Linked DNA regions of Homo sapiens: regions 1, 2 and 3 are each linked to region 4. The links are contacts of gene promoters, found by promoter capture Hi-C in blood cells and fetal thymus (Javierre and others, 2016). All regions are on one chromosome and are shown on one strand. Each heading gives the region's core, a stretch centred on a gene start or on the middle of the fragment in contact. The rest is flanking DNA. Distances are from core to core; before and after follow the strand shown.

Region 1 (2,700 bases), core at 55-2,554, 650 kb before region 4:
AGCTCCTCAGCACTCACTCCCAGCACCCCTCCTCCCTGGGTCTGTGCCTCCCCGGGGCAGGAGGGGATGGGGAAGGATAGGGCAGGTGTGAGGCTCAGCGAGCCCCTCACACGCTGTGGCAGACAGCAGAGAAAGGCCACCAGCCCCCCGCACACGGTACACACTCCCCACAGCAAGGGTGACACTGGTAGAGACAGAGGTTCCCACAGTGCACAAACGTTCCTCTAAAGAAAAAGCAACAACATCAATATATGAAACGCAGGGCTCTTCATGCGTTTACGACAGGGCGTCCTTCACCCTGAAGGTGCCGGCGAGCATCAAGACTGCAGAGCCAGCCACTGGGTGCCGCATTCCTGCTGGCTCAGGTGGGACCTGTTTCTGTTGCATCTTAAAGGACGATGCTGGGAAAGGCTGCTCTCGCCCTGGCAGGGCTTAGAGGTGATGAGATGAGAAAGGGGTGAAGCCATCTGCGCTTCAGAGGAAGCCTGCCTTCCCTGATCACGGAGGAACCAGATCTGAATGTTTCTCTGCTCAACTGGGAGATTGGGACTCGATTTTGACATTCAGGGATCTGGGGCATCTGTGGCCAGGAAAGACCTGTCTGGGGGAGGGGTGGAGGGGCGTCCTTCACCTCTCATGGCCCTGCCATTGAGAGAGGGGCTTCTCCTCAGTGGCTCGCATGGAACACCAGCATCAACATCAATCCCATGAAACATGCGCTCTTCATGCGTTTATGATCGGGTCTCCTTTGCCTTTAAGGTTCCAGCAAGCATCGGGCCTGTGCAGAGGCAGCACTGGGTGCCGCGTTCCTGCTGTCTCAAGTGGGACCTGTTGCTGTCACATCTTAAAGGACGATGCTGGAACGCCAGCCCTGCCACTCTCACTGCGTGATTTCAAACTTTTTTTTTTTTTAATTTTGAGACAAGGTCTTGCTCTGTTGCCCAGGTTGGAGTGCAGTGGCATGACCTCGGGTCACTGTAGCCTCCACCTCCCTGGTGGCCCAAGTGATCCTGATCTTCCCATCTCAGCATCCAAGTAGCTGGGACCACAGGCGCGCACCACCTTGCCCAGCTAATTTTGTCTATAGAGAGGAGGTCTCACTATGTTGCCCAGGCTGGTCTCCAACTCTTGGGCTGAAGCGATCCTCCTGCCTCTGCCTCCCAAAGTGCTGGGATTACAGGCATGAGAGACCATGCCTTGCCAGATAAATTAGTTAAGCTTTCAGAATCTCCATTTCTTTCAAAGCCTGTAAAATAGGGAAGCAATGTGCCAGTGCCTGGCCTTGAAAAAAAAATAAGACATCATTGTAACACGTCCTATGTTGTGACTGGCATGGTTGCCCCAACTCTAGGAATTGGGCTAAACACGCAGCTACATTTCTAGAAGCTTCTCCTGGCCTCCCTCTGACAAGGGCACCAGTCTTGTCCCAGCCTCCGTCTCTTTTACCAGGTGGCCTCCCTAGTCATGCTCTGCTCTGCGGCCTTCACGCCAAAGCTGGTCCCATCCCTCTGCTGGAAGGGCCCTCTGCGGCTCCCCCGTCATGGGCTCAGTCCTACCTCCAGGGAATGAGGTTCTGCGTCCAGCTCCCCTCCCCTTCCACACGCCCAGCAGTGAGCATCATCGTCCTTCGCCCTCCCTCCACCCATCTCCTGCCACCTGCTTCTTGACATCCCATTCAGAGCCCATCCCAGCACTCAGCCGCCATGTCTGTGACAGCCTCTTTGAACACAGGGGCCATTTCCTTCCATGCCGTGTCGTAGACTCCGGTCCCACTCTAGATGCCAAGTGCATCTGCACAGAATGAAGGACTCTAAGATGGGGCATGCCAGGCTCCAATTCAGGAGCTGAGAAGGCTGGGTCCCTGCCCCAGTGCCCTGTTCTGCTGGGCACACAGCTCTGGGCTGCGTGTTTCTGATGATGATGCTTGCTGCTGGGCGTGTGGATACTGTCAAGCTCCGCCTGAGGGAGCTCATTCCCAAGCAGGCCAGAGGCAGCCAGGGCCCTGTCCTCTCTCCTCCCTGCTCCCCACGGGTGGACCGAGCACCACCCTTGGGCTCAGACAAGACGGTGGCGACATCCCAGCATGGCATCCCTCCTCCTTCAGAGCTAGGCTTTGCTAGTGTCCTTGTGTCCTCACTCTCTTTTGCATCCTCAAGGCTCCCCTAAGTGGCTGCGGTCACCAAACTGTGCCCTTGGAGCAGCACCGGGAGAAGGAGAACAGGCAGCCCCTGCCCCTGCAGCTGCCCCGCGTGGTGCCACCCACATGCTCGTCCCTTTCCAGGCCCCTGCAGCCCAGGCTGTTCCATCTCTTTCTGTGTGGGTCAAAGCCTAAGGTGTAAAAAATAAAAAAATAAATAAAAAATAAAAGACTGGCCACACACAGTCTCCCCACCCCCAGGCCGCGGTCTGCACTGCTGCACCAGAGGGCCTTGGCCCTAACTTCCTGGAGCCTCAACAGCAGAGGTGCATTCCTGAGTGCCAGACTAATTCCAAGAGATGGTGAGAAAGGACTGTTTTATAGGAAAGGGGTGAGATAGCAAAGTCACGGAGGCAAAACAAAACAAAAACAAACAAACAAAACAGGCTGGGCACAGTGGCTCACACCTATAATCCCAGCACTTTGGGAGGCCCAGGTGGGTGGGTCACCTGAGGTCAGGAGTATCGAGACCAGCCTGGCCAACATGGTGAAACTCCCGTCTC
Region 2 (2,700 bases), core at 140-2,639, 760 kb before region 4:
GGCTCAGTTAAACAGCAGGATAGAGAAGAGGTCGGGCAAAGACTTTCTCAAGTAGCAGAGACCTCTCAGCAACCAGAAAACATTCCTGAGGACCTACCTGCCTGGAGTGTTGGAAATCCAGTATTCCCTGAATTTGCACAGTACTCTCTGTATTGGAAACACCCCAATTTCCCATCAAAAGCACCAGGTCACAACCTAAACTAATAGTAATTCCACTTTACGTTTATATCGCAATAGTTAGCAATGTTCACAAGCATCTTTAAGCATCGCTGAGTGTGATCTGACCCTTATCACACCCCGGCGTGGCAGCAGGGTCCTAGCCACTAATGTGGTTTGAGCAACAATGGCTTAGAGGCTGGGTAACTTTTCTACAGTCAAACAGATGGTAAGTGGTGAATCTGGGACTAGAAATCCAGGTTTTCGGATGAAGAGACAGTCGATTTACTAGACTACTAGAAGAGAGGAAGGAACATATTCTACCTCAAGATACAATCCTTGGAGGGGGATAAGTAAAGATACTTCTGCATTTTCTCTCTGTACCTCCAAACTGTTTGATGCTGAAACTAGAAACCGGAGCGGGCAGGAGAGGGCAACAAGTATACTTAGGTCTTGGCGAGTGTGTTGGAAGACGGGAACGGGAAGGGGAGGAGAAAGAAAGTAGGAAGAGTCTCAGGAAGATAATTCCTAAGCCAGCCTTCCACCGCGTCGAGGGCAGCAACCACATTACCTCATTGCATCCTCCAAACTCTACGACAAAGGGTGTTACCGTCCCCACTCTGCAGATGAGAAAACTGAGGCTCAGAGGGGAGAGGGAGTGTGTGGGGAAAGCTGGATTCAGAGGCAGCGCTGCCAGACTGCGGAAACACCCAAACCGCCGAGGTCCCCACCCCTCCACGTCGCAGGCAATCCGCATCCACCAGGGCGGGGCGTCCGAAAATCTCCCCCTACCGGGCGGCACAGCCACCCCTCCCCCGGGCCCAGCTCTTCGCCCTCGGTTCGGACGGCCCTGGGGTCTCCGGGACTCCGGTATCCATTGCTCCCCAGCCCCCTCCTCCCCGCCAGTCCAGGCCAGGTCCGGCCGCAGCCGGATCCCAGCAGGGAAGCCGGTGCCGCAGGGTTTGCGCCGCCCCAGCCCCAGCGGGGGCGGGCGCGGGGGAACTGTTCGGGGAAGGGGCCCCGGGGGCGGCCACGAGCCACTCACGCGTCGAACTTGTTGTTCATCCTCTCGCCGCCGCTGTCGCCACTGCCTCAGGGAGTGACTTCCGCTCCACCGGGTCCCTCAGCCTTGGGCCCGGGTACTTCCGGTTTTGCGCGGGGCGCAGCGGAACGTCGGCGCGCAGGCCCGGTTTGGAAGCGGCTATCTCGGGACGCCAGCTCAGGGCGGCTGCGCAGAGGGCTGGACTCAGCGGCGGAGCTGGCTGCTGGCCTCAGTTCTGCCTCTGTCCAGGTCCTTGTGACCCGCCCGCTCTCCTAAGGGAGCGTGTCCTGGCCCCCTCCCGCAGCGGCTCGGAAAAAAGGCAGCACCGCGTCGTTGACGGCGCGGGCTCTGGACTCGCTGCTTGGTAAAAACCTTCCTCTTCCTCCAGTGCGGGACGCACTCTCTGGTATCTCTTTTGACCTCCCGGAGGCTTTCCTTTGTCGGTCGCGGCGCCACTGTACTATGGCATACCTCGTTTTATTACGCTTCGCAGATAGGGCATTCTGAAAACAAATGGAGGGTTTGTGGCAGCCCTGAGTCCAGCAATTGTATCAGCGCCATTTTTCCAACAGCATGTGCTCACTTGGTGTCTCTGTGTTACATTTTGGTAATTCTCAAAATATTTAAAACTTTTTCATGATTTCTGTGTCTGTTATGGTGATCTATGATCAGTGATCTTTGATGTTGCTATTGTCATTGTTTTGGGGTGCCACATACAGCGTCTTTTATAAGACGTGGAACTTAATGTTGTGTGTGTTCTGACCGCTCCACCCACAGACCGTTCCCCATCTCTCTCCCTCTTCTTGGGCCTCCCTATTCCCTGAGACACAACAATATTGAGATTAGGCGAATTAATGACTCTGCAATGGCCTCTAAGTGCTCAAGTGAAAGGAAGAGTCGCACATCTCTCACTTTAAATCAAAAACTAGAAATGATTAAACTGAGTGAGGAAGGTATGTCAAAAGCCGAGATAGGCCGAAGGCTAGGCCTCCTGCGGCAAACAGTTAGCCAAGTTGTAAATGCAAAGGAAAAGTTCTTGAAGGAAGTTAAAAGTGCTACTCCAATGAACACACGAATGATAAGAAAGCGAAACAGCCTTATTGCTGATATGGAGAAGGTTTTAGTGGTCTGGATAGAAGATCAGACCAGCCGCAACATTCCCTTAAGCCAAAGCCTAATCCAGAACAAAGCCCTAACTCTCTTCAACTCTATGAAAGCTGAGAGAGGTGTGGAAGCTGCAGAAGAAAAGTTTGAAGCTAGCAGAGGTTGGTTCATGAGGTTTAAGGAAAGAAGCCATTTCCATAACATAAAAGCACAAGGTGAAGCAGCAAGTGCTGATGTAGAAGCTGCAGCAAGTTATCCAGAAGCTTTAGCTAAGATCATTGACGAAGGTGGCTACACTAAACAACAGATTTTCAATGTAGATGAAACAGCCTTCTATTGGAAGAAGATGCCATCTAGAACTTTCATAGCTAGAGAGGAGAAGTCAGTGCCTGGCTTCA
Region 3 (2,700 bases), core at 68-2,567, 780 kb before region 4:
ATCAGAAATCACTCTGTTCTGGTCATCGGTGTGACTAGATGGGAACTCAAATTTAAGTACCAGAAAATGGGGTCTTATTTTCTAAGCTAGATGTCACCTTATTATGTCAGGCCTCAGCAGTCCTGGAACAAAATACCACATGACACTACACAATGGGCTTATGGAAATGAGGCTGCATTCCCCGGATGGCCCTCCATGGAAAAGTCTGTGCCATCCCTTAATATGGTGACAGTCAGTCCGAAAGGCCACATCTTTGATGCACCATAAAGAGCAAGAGCATGAGACAAGCTAGTTTAGCACCATTTATTAAGTGATCTCAGCTGTTGTTGTAGCTGCTGCGTGTCAGCCTGTTCTTAAAACATAAAATGCTCTTCCAATTCCTCTTGTCCAGGACAGAAGGATCTTCCAGGTAGCACGCCAACAGAACAAGAGACTCCGATGACGCCAGCTTCAATGATGGTGCCATCCAGAGAGGGAGAGGGTCATGGCACATTCAACCGCGGCTTCCAGAGGTTTTGAAAAAGGAGCCTTTGGGGGCCCAGCCTGCCTGGCATTCTAGTGGAAGTGCAAAAGGTTGGCTCATTGGGAGAGGAAAGAGAGGGGGACGCAAGGGAAAGTAGCATCTGGGTCTCAAAGAGGGTTGGTCTTCTGGTCTCTACAGCTACAGGGCTGAAGTCCCAGAGGCAGACCTCTGGATAAAGCAGAGAGCAGCAGGCCAGTCTTTCTAGCAGACTAAGGCAAAAAGCCCACAGGCTCTCCTAAACTCTGTAAGGACGTGTACATATGTTTCTGTAAAAGTCACGAAGAACTGCCTTATGGTATTAGAAAGGGAGAAGAGCAGAGAAGGGGAGAATTGATGAAAAATACCTCTTTCCCTCTCCTATCCAGGTAAAAAGCTTATTTTGGGGGTAAGTGGGAGTAGGGGATATTCAGAAACCTTGAAAACGAGAATCCTAGAAACAGGTGTAGATCTCTCCAGCCTGGACTGAACGTGGCTAGAAGTCAGAAACTACTTCTATCCCAGAATAGAGAATAAGAAAAATGTGCCCAGAGTAAAGCAATGCTAACACAGGACTGCTAAGGCAAGCAACCACAGCCATGGCTGGCTAATAACTGTTCGTGACTATGATGAGTCATGCCAGCCGTTTGATCATGGACCAACGCCCATAGCAGTGTTCCCACTTAAAAACTGGCACTTAGCTGGTTTAAGCCAACTCCACTCCACATTATCTATGAATGCATGGGAAAGAGATTCCCAAATGGTCTGTCTGCTGAACATAATTGCTGGGCTCACTACTAGCCTTCAATAATAACAACATGATGATATTCTTACTAATGATGATGATGATGATAGCAATACTACTACTTGGCCCCGTAAAAGCATTCTCCATCTGAAGACCCTCAGTTAAAGATTAAATCAGCCTCACAATAGCCTTGTTAGATAAAGTACTGTCTCCCACTTTACAGATGGAGAAACTGAAGCAAAGTTGCAAAGACACTTGTCAAAGGCACATATTGGTATGGGGCCATATGAGAGAACTAAACCTAAGAGTCCTAACTCTTAGCTGGCTAGCTCTCCCTCCAGCTTTGAGACAATCTGACAGCCACTCCCCACACTTTTTCACAATAGCCTGAGCTTACTTCTGACACTCAATCACTGAGGAGCAAGCCTAACAGTGATTCTCACTGTGGACAGAGAGCTCTATTTCCCTGAGTCCTAGGGAGATTGCCAAGCTTATTTTCCCTGTGGCCTTCATGCTTCCCTTTGATTCTGCTCTCTCACACACACACTATCCCCCTTCTTCTAAGAGTCAGCTCTATACACAAGGAAATGGAGTCATTCCTGATAAGTAGTCAGTATCCCAGGACAAAGAAAATAGACTGAAGCTAACAAGTTAAAAAGACATGCAGAAGTGGGGTGAGGGTGGGCAGGGTGAAATTATCTTAAAAAACAGCAAGAAAAAGAAAAGCACTTGTCTTTCATTTTAAGATAGTGGTTAGCATATGAAAGACAAGACAGCCTGTAGAAATTAAGCAAGCCCAGGTAGTACAACTGGGTTTCTGCAGATGGGCTCTCTCTGCTACAAAGCACCTGGTAGTATAGGTGGCAGGGAGCCTCGCTGACAAAGAACTGCAGCAAGTAGCCAGAAGCCCTAGAGGGAAGGCCTGGTCTGTCCCTTCTCCACAAGTAAGTCTCCTGTCCGGCCATATTCCTCTGGGCCCAACTACAGATCTACTTATACTAAGCTTAGGGACACGTCCTCCCATAACCCCCCAACACGTACTTGATGCTGTCGGTGTGAGTTTTGTATTCCATAATGGTGTTGGGAGGTAGGTTAAGCACTCGCCGAAGTGTGTCCCGGATTCGGGCTGTGGTTGCTTGGTCACTGGCAGTCTTATTCCATATTGAAATAATGTCTTCCTACCAGAGGAACAGAAGGAATCATCAAAGCAAATCAGGGGCAGCGAGGAGAGCAAAGGCAACACAAGAAACCAGCCTGGCTCATGGGTGGCTTACCTGAAAGCGGACAGACACCACAGCCCCACAGATCTCCTCCCCAACCATGAACTGTTCCCCCAGCATGGCCAAAATGAGATTCTCCCAGCAACGGGAGGCCAAGCCCTTCCGCAGCCGAATAATCCACTTGCCACCATTTTTATTTGCATCATCCTGTAAAAAGACAGAAAGCACTGAAGTTA
Region 4 (2,700 bases), core at 149-2,648:
AATCAGTTACAGCTCCCACTGTGTCATCAGAATCCAATCTACAGCCAGACAGATAAGGAAAACAAAAAACCAGACAAGAAAGATGTCTCATTTAATCAAGTCAAGTAAGCACAGATAAAGGGAGACATCATTTTGAAAGAAAAGTAGCGATATATTCAAACTAAGAACATACATGCTGTGTAAGACCATGGGGAAAAATCCCTGTATTCGGCCTCCTCCTGATACGACATTTTAACCAAACGTGACTTCAGAATGTGTAAAAAAAAAAAAACCTCAAGAAAACGATAAAAAGATTTGGGAAAACAGTGAAAATATTGTATCAGCGCTCCGAAGACATTAAGTACAGGAGGGTCCCTCAATTGTGTAATCTAATTACACGCTGAGTGTACAGGAGTTCCAGGTAAGATTTCTCCTCCAAGAATGATACATATTAGAGCAGCGTGACAAAATGAACGAAAAACGGTATAGTAGAGTGCAGCAAAGAACAATTTGAAGAATAGTTTGGTGCAAGAGGAACTAAGTTTTGTGTTGGCAGGCACACAGATTAGTTGCCCTTTCACAGTATTAGAGAAACAAGTATGTCGCCTCACTTAGGGTTACCTAAGAAGGTCCGGCCAGACACAGGAAAAACAATGAAGTGCTGGGGAACAACGAGTTTGAGGACGGAAGGGAAAGGGAAAAGAGAAGGGGAGAGGATACGAGGAAGAAGGAAAGGAGTAGGGAAGAAAGGAGGGTCGGTGACGGTAAAGAGGGAAGGAGCGAAAAGGCCCTTCCAAGAGGACCCGTGTGAAGAGACAGATGGGGATCTCTGCAAAGAGTCCCAATGTTAGGAGGTGGGGGTGGAGAGGGGGTAGGGAAATGGAGAGAAACTTCTGTCCCTTCAAAAAATCTCGGCTTAAGGAGCAAAGCCTGTGGGCGCAGAGAATGTAAAGAGACGGAGACAGTCGCTTTCTTCTGGAGTGGGAGGGCCAGAGGCTAGGCACAGAGCGGAGATAAATTCCCGTCAGGGGAGGGCGCTATTTGGATGGACTGGAGAGGGGCAAACGAGCAGCCTTTGGGGATGGGAGAGCGAAAGCAGCCACAGCACTGAAGCTGAGGGTCGCAAGCTGCAGCAGACCTCACGGTGGGCGGTATGCTCCAAGCAGGGCCGCAGGCGTGGAGTGAGGAGCCGCGGGACGCGCTCCCCAAGGCGGGGGCGGGGCGGGCACGGCCGCGGGCTTCCTTGGCGGCGGGCTCTAAGCCGGATCGTCTGGCCGAGCCTGGAGCGCCGGCCCCGCTCGGCCCACCCTCTCGCTAGCTCCTACCTGTCCACGCCACCTCTCGGTCCTCTTAGTCGCTGGCTCGGCCTCCCGGCGCCTGCCCGCAGGTTGTCAAGCGTCCATGATCACCCCGGCGTCCGGCGCTTTTCTGTCTCCGCCGACCCGTCGCCCGTGCAGCTCCCCCGGAAGCCTCCCACCGCTGCACTCGCGTTCCGCCCACACAAGGTTCCACCCGCCGCGTTTACAGCCTTCGACCTCCGGTGGGGAAGTGGGAGCGAGGGGGCGGGGAAGAGTCTGCAGCCCGGGAACCAGGCGGGGAGGGGGTGGCTAGGGGCCCAAGGAGAGGAATGCGGCCTAGACGGTACTGCAGCCCAACCGTCGCCATCGCCATCCCGGGCCCCAAATCCTCCCCTTAGGCTGTGCTTTCTCTCTCAGGAGCTCCCCATGGCTACTGCGCTACCCCTGGGCACCGAGATACATTAAGCCTACTAACTACCACTTATTGAGCGTTTTACCATGTGCCAGGTGCTGTACATGCATTATCTCGTTGAATTCTCATAACTGTGGCTTGTATTATTGTTCCCATTTTTCAGGTGAGTTAACTAAGTCCAAAAGTCAGAAAGTGACAAAGCTTGCTATCTTTGTCAAACCCAGGCTATCTGAGGCCGAAGACGATGTTCTTGACCTCTATTCAGAAAATGTTTTAAAATAAGCAAGAGATGGGTTAAGCCAACAATGGTTCTATGACCAAAATGTCATTGATAGAGTTGCATCTGGTGCTTACCAACTCCCCTGGGAAGATGGCTAAGAAATGCCACATAATTGAACACTTAAACTGATTCCTGTATACACCACAGTCTTTCAGGTCTTGAAAATGAGAGAGAAAAACAGCCCTATTTGCCTATCGTGCGTTAGAATGCAGAAATGAGACAGGACAAATGCAAAGGAGCCTAGCATCAACCAACTCATTCATTTATTCAAAAACATTTCTTTAGCACCTATTATGTCCTGAAAAGTTATATGAAGATAAAACAAAGCTCTTACCCTCAAAAGCTCCAATGTGTTAAATGCTATGGGGAAGATATGACAACACTTTGGAAGCACAGAAGAGGTTGGGGAAGAAAAAAACAGACAAAAAGGGGAAAAAAGGGGGGTAGTGCCCATTGTCACAGAGGCTCGCACTGTGCAGCATATACTGATGTCAAAAAGAAACCCAGAGTGGTTTGACCCCAGGGTTTTCAAGAGTGAGAAATGAGGGGTACAGAGCTGGAGTCAGGTCATCAAAGGTCTTGGAATCCACATGCCAGGTACTGGGGAATTACTTAGGCTTTTTAAGCTAAGGAGAGGTATGAATAATTGCCTTGTTAGAGTGATCATGCTAGGTGCTATAGGAGTGGATTGGATGTGGAGAGAATTGGAGGCAGGGAAAACCTCCGGTGAG

The links. The method cuts DNA at HindIII sites, captures the fragments that hold promoters and counts their contacts. A CHiCAGO score of 5 or more calls a contact.
Region 1: a fragment that was not itself captured here is called in contact with the fragment with the promoter of COPS7B in region 4 in 1 of 17 cell types (fetal thymus); the score reaches 6.0 in fetal thymus.
Region 2: the fragment with the promoter of TIGD1 here is called in contact with the fragment with the promoter of COPS7B in region 4 in 1 of 17 cell types (total CD8 T cells); the score reaches 5.5 in total CD8 T cells.
Region 3: a contact is called between a fragment that was not itself captured here and the fragment with the promoter of COPS7B in region 4, in 2 of 17 cell types (endothelial precursors and non-activated CD4 T cells). The highest score is 6.3, in endothelial precursors.

The regions. Positions count from the first base shown.
Region 1 is chr2:232,436,308-232,439,007 of GRCh38, reverse strand. No RefSeq gene overlaps it. Among named protein-coding and RNA genes, the nearest start is that of ALPI, 18 kb to the left of the region's middle. The HindIII fragment of the contact is 168 bases long and covers 1,221-1,388 here.
Region 2 is chr2:232,549,246-232,551,945 of GRCh38, reverse strand. It overlaps TIGD1 (tigger transposable element derived 1), which reads left to right and starts at 1,389. Exons shown (of 1, transcript NM_145702.4): 1 at 1,389-2,700. The coding sequence starts at 2,064. It overlaps EIF4E2 (eukaryotic translation initiation factor 4E family member 2), which reads right to left and starts at 1,257. Exons shown (of 7, transcript NM_004846.4): 1 at 1,202-1,257. The coding sequence starts at 1,221. MIR5001 (microRNA 5001) reads left to right here and starts at 1,373; the gene lies at 1,373-1,472. RefSeq lists a silencer at 877-1,246. The HindIII fragment of the contact is 3,438 bases long and covers 1-2,567 here.
Region 3 is chr2:232,566,800-232,569,499 of GRCh38, reverse strand. EIF4E2 (eukaryotic translation initiation factor 4E family member 2) reads right to left here. Exons shown (of 7, transcript NM_004846.4): 5 at 2,519-2,671; 6 at 2,286-2,422; 7 at 290-555. The coding sequence ends at 483. Among named protein-coding and RNA genes, the nearest start is that of EIF4E2, 17 kb to the right of the region's middle. RefSeq lists an enhancer at 403-1,602. The HindIII fragment of the contact is 838 bases long and covers 899-1,736 here.
Region 4 is chr2:231,785,143-231,787,842 of GRCh38, reverse strand. COPS7B (COP9 signalosome subunit 7B) reads right to left here and starts at 1,398. Exons shown (of 7, transcript NM_022730.4): 1 at 1,305-1,398. RefSeq lists silencers at 1,141-1,400, 1,491-1,670, 1,681-1,760. The HindIII fragment of the contact is 4,652 bases long and covers 1-1,892 here.